2 separate regions of the Homo sapiens genome follow, and region 1 is linked to region 2. Evidence: promoter capture Hi-C in human tissues and cell types (Jung and others, 2019). All regions are on one chromosome and are shown on one strand. The core of a region is centred on a gene start or on the middle of the fragment in contact, and the rest is flanking DNA. Distances in the headings are between cores, read along the strand shown.

Region 1 (3,985 bases), core at 1,124-3,623, 63 kb after region 2:
AAGACCAGCTTGGCAACATGGTGAAACGCTGTCTCTACTAAAAATACAAAAATTAGCTGTGCATGGTGGTGCATGCCTGTAATCCCAGTTACTTGGGAGGCTGAGACAGGAGAATTGCTTGAACCCAGGAGGTGGAGGTTGCAGTGAGCCAAGATTGTGCTACTGCACTTCAGCCTGGGTGACAGAAAGAAACTTTGTCTCAAAAAAACTAATCAACAAATAATAGCTATAAAATGTTGAGGGATACACACTATAAAAAGATGTAAATTGTGACATTAAAAACATAAAATGTGGAAAGGGGTAGAGAACATGTAGTTTGGTTTACAATCAAAGTTGTTATCTACTTAAAATATCCTATGATAACTATATTTTCTGTAAGCCTTATGCTAACCACAAAGCAAAAAATCTATAGTAGATACACAAAAGATTTTAAAAAAGAAATCAAAGCATACCACCAAAGAAAATCACGTCATTACAAGTAAGAAAGCAAAAGGGAAAGAAAGGAACAAAGGATCTAGGAAAGAAGCAATTAACAAAATGGCAATAGTGGGCCCTTGGCTATCAGTAATTACCTTAAATACAAATGGATTAAATTCCTTGGTTAAAAGAGTGGCTGAGTAAAATTTTTGAAGACCCATTTATATGCTGCCTATAAGAAACTCACTTCACCTTTAAGGTCATATATATACTGAAAGTGAAAGGATGGAAAAAGTATTCCATGGAAATGGAAACCGAAAGAGTAGGGATAGCTATACTTAAATCAGATAAACTAGATTTTAAGTCAAAAATTGTGACACAAAGGTCATTATATGACAAACGTGTCAATTTATCAAGAAGATATACCTCTAAATTTATATACATTCAACATCTGAGCACCTAAATATATAAAGCAAATATTAATAGACCTGAAGGGAGAGAGAGAGACTGTAACATAATATCAGTAGAAGACTTCAATACCCTACTTTCAGCAACAGACAGATCATCCAGACAGAATCAGTAAGGAGATGTAAACTACAGCTTAGACCAAATGGACCTAAGAGACATACACAGAATTTCCATCCAATAGCAGCAGCATACACATTCTTCTCAAGCACACAAGGAACTTCTCTAGGATAGGATGTATATTAGGCCACAAAACAAATCTTAAATTTAAGATTATATCAAGTATTTTTTTCCTACCACAGTGGTATAAAAATAGAAATCAGTAATAGGAAGAATTTTGAAAAATGCACGAATATGTGGAAATTAAACAACATGCTCCTAATCAGTGGGTCAGATAAGAAATTTAAAAACATCTTGAGACAGGCTGGGCGCGGTGGCTCACGCTTGTTATCCCAGCACTTTGGGAGGCTGAGGCGGGTGGATCACGAGGTCAGGAGATAGAGACCATCCTGGCTAACACGGTGAAACTTCATCTCTACTAAAAAATAAAAAAGTACAAAAAATTGCCCGGCGTGCCTGACACATGCCTGTAATCCCAGCTAGTTGGGAGGCTGAGACAGGAGAATTGCTTGAACATGGGAGGCAGAGGTTGTAGTGAGCCAACATCGCGCCACTGCACTCCAGCCTGGGTGACAGAGTGAGACTTGGTCTCCAAAAAAAAAAAAAAAAAAAAAAAAAAAAGTCTTGAGACTAATGAAAACAGAAACACAACATACCAAAATTTATGGGATTCATGCAGTGAGCTGAGATCGCACCACTGCACTCCGGCCTGGGTAACAGAGGGAGACTGCATCTCAAAAAAAAAAAAAAAAAAATTTATAGGATTCACTAAAAGCAGTTCTAAGAGATGTTTATAGCAATAAATGCCTATATCAAAAGAGAACAAATAATGCTATACCTCAAAGAACTAGAAAAAGCAGCCCAAAGTTAGAAGAAAATATCAGAACAGAAATAAATTATTCATGGATTTATTCATTCATTTCTTAGAAAAAGACAACAGGAAAAAAACCTTAAGAATTTTTTAAGATAAAATTGGAAAACTTTTAGGTAGAGTAAGAAAAAAGACAACTCAAAATCAGAAATGAAAGCTGAAGTGTTACAACTGATACCACAGAAATACGAAGGATTAGAATACCATGAACAATTATACATCAACAAATTAGAGAACCTAGAAGAAACGGATAAATTCCTAAACACATACAAACTACCAACACTGAATCATGAAGAAACAGAAAAACCAATAGGCTGGGCGTGGTGACTCACGCCTGCAATCCCAGCACTTTGGGAGGCCGAGGCGGGTGGATTACTTGAGGTCAGGAGTTTGAGACCAGCCTGGGCAAGATGGTGAAACCCCATCACTACTAAAAATACAAAAATTAGCCAGGCGTGGTGGCGGGCAACTGTAATCCCCCCTACTTTGGAGGCTGAGGCAGGAGAATTGCTTGAACCCAGGAGGCAGAGGTTGCAGTGAACCGAGATCGCACACTGCACTCCAGTCTGGGCAATAGAGTGAGACTCGGGTAGGGGGGGTGGGTGGGGAAAAGGCCAGGCACAGTGGCTCATGCCTGTAATCCCAGCACTTTGGGAGGCTGAGGTAGGCGGATTACCTGAGGTCAGGAGTTCAAGACCAGCCTGGCCAACATGACGAAACCCTGTCTCTACCAAAAATACAAAAATTAGCCGGGCATGGTGGCGGGCATCTGTAATCCCAGCTACTTGGGAGACTGAGGCAGGGAGAATCATTTGAACCCGGGAGGCAGAGGTTGCAGTGAGCCAAGATTGTGCCATTGCACTCTAGCCTGGGTGACAGAATGAGACTCCATTTCAAAAACAACATCAACAACAAACTCAGTAAGAGGCTGAATTACAAATCCATCAAAGAAAAGCGCAGGACTTAATGGTGTCAGTACTGAGTTCTACTTAACATTTAAAGAACTAATACCAATTCTTTTCAAACTCATCCAAAAAAATTGAACAAGGGGGAACACCTTCAAACTTATTTTATGAAGCCAGCATTACCCTGATACCAAAGCCAGACAAGGGCACTGGAAGAAAAAAAAAAATTACAGGCCAGTATCCCTGATGAACATAGATGCAAAAACCCTCAACAAAATACCAGCAAACCAAATTCAACAGCACATTGAAAGACAATTCACTATGATCAAGTGGGATCTATCCCAGGGATGTAAGGATGTTTCAACATACACAAGTCTATAAATGTGATCTACCACATTAACAGTATGAAGGACAAAATCTATTCTGATCACCTTAATAGATGCAGAAAAAGCATTTGACAAAACTCAACATCTTTTCATAATAAAAACTCTCAAAATAGATATAGAAAGAATGTACCTCAGCACAAGGCAGGCCATATATGACAAGCCCACAGCTAACATACTTAATAGTGAACAGTTGGAAGCTTTTTATCTGGCTGGGCACAGTGGCTAACACCTGTAATCCCAGTCCCTTGGGAGTCCAAGGCAGGCGGATCACTTGAGGTTAGGAGTTCAATACCAGCCTGGCCAACATGGCGGAACCCTGTCTCTACTAAAAATACAAAAATTAGCCAGGTGTGGTGGTGCAGCCCTGTAATTCCAGCTACTTGGGAGACTGAGGCAGGAGAATTGCTTGAACCTGGGAGGCAGAGGTTGCAGTGAGCCAAGATGGAGCCACTGCACTCCAGCCTGGGCAACAGAGTGAGTCTGTGTCAAAAAAAAAAAAAAAAAAAAAAAAAAAAGAGAAAGCTTTTCATCTACTATCAGGAACAAGACAAGAATGTCCACTCTCACTACTTCTATTCAACACAGTATTGGAAGTCCTAGCCAGAACAGTTAGGCAAGAGAAAAAAATGAGGCTTCCAGACGGGAAAGAAAGAAGGTAAATTGTCCATGTTTGCAGATGCTATGATCTCATATAGAAAACCTTAAAGAGTCCACCAGAAAACTTTCAGGACTAATGAATGAATGAAGTTGCAGGATACAAAAATCAACGTACAAAAATCAGTAGTGTTTTATATAAACAATGACCTATCTATACAAGAAGT
Region 2 (3,820 bases), core at 332-2,831:
TGCACAGCACAGACGCCACCCTCAAGCCCGGTGCCGGTGCCGAATGGGATGATGGGCACACCTTGGCGATAGCACAGGGCTGCCAGCCGGCTGACCTGCTCCACGTTCTGGGGCCACACCACAGCATCAGGAGGTTCGCACCTAGAACCAGACCCTCAGCGATTTAGCGGGGCGTGACACCCTCTGGTCCCGAGGTGTTGCAGGGCCTGAGGCTACAGCAAGCGAGGGGCAGAGAACATGCCAGAGCACCCCAAAACAGATGAGTGAGGAGGAAGGCAACCCAGCACCCTCTCTCTCAGCTGGGGTTGAATCCAGAAGACAGGGGAGGGGCCCGCGAACCCTCCCATACCTGTGCACCGACTCATCGCGCCCGTGCTGCTCTCGGACCACCGCGGCAGTGGACACGTGGGAGCCGCCCACCACGGCCTTCAGAGCCTCTACGAAGTCCCTGCAGAGCTCTCCCTGCAGGGAAGAAACACACTGCCAGGGTCCCCCGAAAGACACATGGGGCCACAGCCCTGCCCCAGTGTCGGGGGGAGGGCTGGGGGCTGGAGGCTGGAGTGAGCCTCCCCTGCGCCCGCCCCGCTGACAACATCCTTGCCAGGTGGGCCCACTTTAAACAAACCCACTATCCAGAAATGCCTCTTTTCCAAACAGAGCCATTGGGGGTCAAAGTTTCCCCTCAGAAAAAAACGCCACCAGAATTTTTTTAATGTTTTCTTTTTTAATAAAAACAGGGTCTTACTATGTTGCCCAGGATGGTTTCAAACTCCTGGGCTCAAGCGATCCACCTGCCTCGGCCTCCCAAAGTGCTGGGGTTACAGGCGTGAGCCACAGCGCCCAGCCATCCAAATAAAAAACCAGAATTCACTCTCCAAAAAGGCTATCAGCAGGGTTCCTTCAATAGCCAGCCCAGCCTGAGCAACCGAAAAGATCCCTCACTTCCTCCTTTCTCCAGGGCCAACCAAGCACCACCCCAGCCACAGGGAACTCAGAGCTTGATAAGGGAATTAGGGGGAGGAAAAGCTTCCACTGCCCCCTCCCCACTCTACGTTGCCTGGGGCTTCTGGGCCCTTCGTGGGGGGCGGGGCGCGGCGGGGCGGGGGATGTGTTTCTTCCCATTTTACAGATGAGAAATGGAGGCCAAGTTAAGGACAGAGCCTGGCCTGGAACCCAGGCCCTTTCCTTCAGGGCCTTCTTCCACAGGTGTGTTTTATTCCAGGGGCATCCATTTGACTCCCCCAGCCCCACTCATGGTAGCAGTGGGGACTCAGCTGATCTCACTCTACACCCACCCACAGTTGCCACAGGGTAAGCCCAGTGCCCTTTTGCCCAAGGTCAGGTCACTTGGTGCTGGGGCGTCACAGAGCCCAGGAAACTTGGGATCAGAACCCCCTGCTCCCCGCTCCCCACCTCATCCCTCCAGAGGACTTCTCTTCTCTCCCGGTACCTTTGCCTTCTGGGAGCAGTAGCCCCTCCAGGGGAACAGCTCCCAGGTTGCAGACCTGAGCAGTCGGGCCATAGCCAGGCACTGGCCAGAGGGTGTGAGCACTGGGTGGCAGGGTGACCAGTCAGCTACTGTGGCAGCAGCTACTGCTGCTGTCAGCCCATTGGCTAGGCCAGGGGTGGGGCCTGCTTAAGGTGGCACGGGCTTTAAGGTGGCCCTTGCAGATCTTGCAGACATTTTCGTGGGCTCCAGGGACGACACTTCTAAAGGAGAGGCGAGGTTCACTGGACGTTTTGGGAAACTGTAAGGCAAAAATAAAATTCTAAGCCTCCCAACCGACTGAATGGACCTCCCTCTCAGCCCAGGGCATTCCAAAATAAACCTGAAAAATTAATTCAGGCTGTGATGGGAAGAGGTTTAGGACAAGCCTCATTATCCCCCTCCTTCCTTTAGAATTCAGACACAACTGACCAGCATTAACATTAAAACAGAGACCTTAAGGCATTCTGATCTTAAGACACAAAACAGACTCTTTGTAGCAATAAGATACCAAATTCCAACCTGACTCTAGCATCACCTGACAGATAGCAGGCCCTGAAAGAAATCAATGTATTTTACCCCCAAAATATATTCCTCTGATTTTTTTTTTAAATAGCTCCAAAAAGCTGTCTTTTGTGGGGAAAATCTAGAATCTGTAGAGAATCCCCTCCCCTTTCCAGGTTTTTTGTTTTGTTTTGTTTTGTTTTGAGACAGAGTCACTCTGTGGCCCAGGCTGGAGTGCAGTAGCGTGCTGCAACCTCCACCCACTGGGTTCAAGCGATTCTCCTGCCTCAGCCTCCCAAGTAGCTGGGATTACAGGTGCCTGCCACTGTGCCCAGATAATTTTTCTATTTTTAGTAGAGACAGGGTTTCACCATCTTGGCCAGGCTGGTCTTGAACTCCTGACCTCGTGATCCACCTGCCTTGGCCTCCCAAAGTGCTGGGATTACAGGCATGAGCCACCGCGTCCAGCCTCTTTCCAGGTTTTATCCTGATCTAAGGGAGATTTAACTAAGAGTCTGGCACCTTTTAACGCCTTAGACATTTACCATCTATGTTACATAATAAGAACCTTGGGCCGGGTGCAGCGGCTCACATCTGTAATGCCAGCACTTTGGGAGGCCAAAGTGGGAGGATCACGAGGTCAAGAGATAGAGACCCTCTTGGCCAACATGGTGAAACCCCGTTTCTACTAAAAATACAAAAATTAGCTGGGCATGGTGGTACACGCCTGTAGTCTCAGCTACTTGGGAGGCTGAGGCAGGAGAATCGCTTGAACCCAGGAGGTGGAGGTTGCAGTGAGCTGAGATCGCACCACGGCACTCCAGCCTGGCGACAGAGCGAGACTCTGTCTCAAAAAAAAAGAACCTTGGTCTCCACAACTCCTTATCTTAACCCAGATGCTTATTTCTATTGATTCCAGGTTGTCTTTTTTAAAATTTTTTATTTAAAAAAAATTTTGTTGTTGTATACCAAGATTCCAAGTCTTTGGATAATAACTTCTTTCAACCAATTGAAAATCAGAAATTTTTTTTTTTTTTTGAGATGGAGTCTCACTCTGTTGCTCAGGCAGTGGCGTGATCTCAGCTCACTACAACCTCCATCTCCTGGGTTCAAGCTGTTCTCATGCCTCAGCCTCCCAAGTAGCTGGGATTACAGGAGTGCCACCATGCCCAGCTAATTTTTGTATTTTTAATAGAGACAGGGTTTCACCATGTTGGTCCAGGCTGGTCTCGAACTCCTGACCTCAAGTGATCCACCCGCCTTGGCTCCCCAAAATGCTGGGATTACAAGTGTGAGCCACCGTGCCCAGCGCCAATCAGAAAAGTCTTTGAATTCACCTATGACCTGTAAGCTCCTCCCTCAATCAGAAGGAACCAATGCATACCCTGCTTATATTGATTACTGTCTGATGCCTCCCTAAACTGTATAAAACCAGTTGTAACTCAACTGCCTTGGGTACATGTTCTCAGGACCTCCAGGGAATGTGTCACAGGTCATGGTCTTCATGTGAGTGGTGGGAAATCCATACAGGTCTACATAAAACTCAATGCTTGCCTCATCAGAAGAAAGAATTCTACTGAAGAGGTCTGAAAGGGAAATATCTTGAGCCCCCAAAATTACTAAGCTAAAGGGAAAAGTCAAGCTGGGAACTGCTTAAGGCAAACCTGCCTCCCATTCTTTCAAAGTCACCCCTCTGATCACTGAGCTAAATGCATATCTGATTGCCTCCTTTTGAGAGGATAATTAGAAACTCAAAAGAATGCAAACATTTGTCTCTTATCTACCTATGACCGGGAAGCCCCCTCCCTGTCTTTCCAGACCCAAACAATG

The links. Contacts are between HindIII fragments. The study calls those that stand out against the background at their distance.
Region 1: a fragment that was not itself captured here is called in contact with the fragment with the promoter of LDHD in region 2 in 1 of the 25 tissues and cell types used here (heart left ventricle).

What each region holds. Positions count from the first base shown.
Region 1 is chr16:75,177,325-75,181,309 of GRCh38, forward strand. No RefSeq gene overlaps it. Among named protein-coding and RNA genes, the nearest start is that of CTRB2, 28 kb to the right of the region's middle. The HindIII fragment of the contact is 3,256 bases long and covers 746-3,985 here.
Region 2 is chr16:75,115,199-75,119,018 of GRCh38, forward strand. LDHD (lactate dehydrogenase D) reads right to left here and starts at 1,582. Exons shown (of 11, transcript NM_194436.3): 1 at 1,451-1,582; 2 at 350-462; 3 at 1-141. The coding sequence starts at 1,522. It also overlaps a transcript of ZFP1 not described here. RefSeq lists an enhancer at 813-1,107. The HindIII fragment of the contact is 8,282 bases long and covers 1-3,820 here.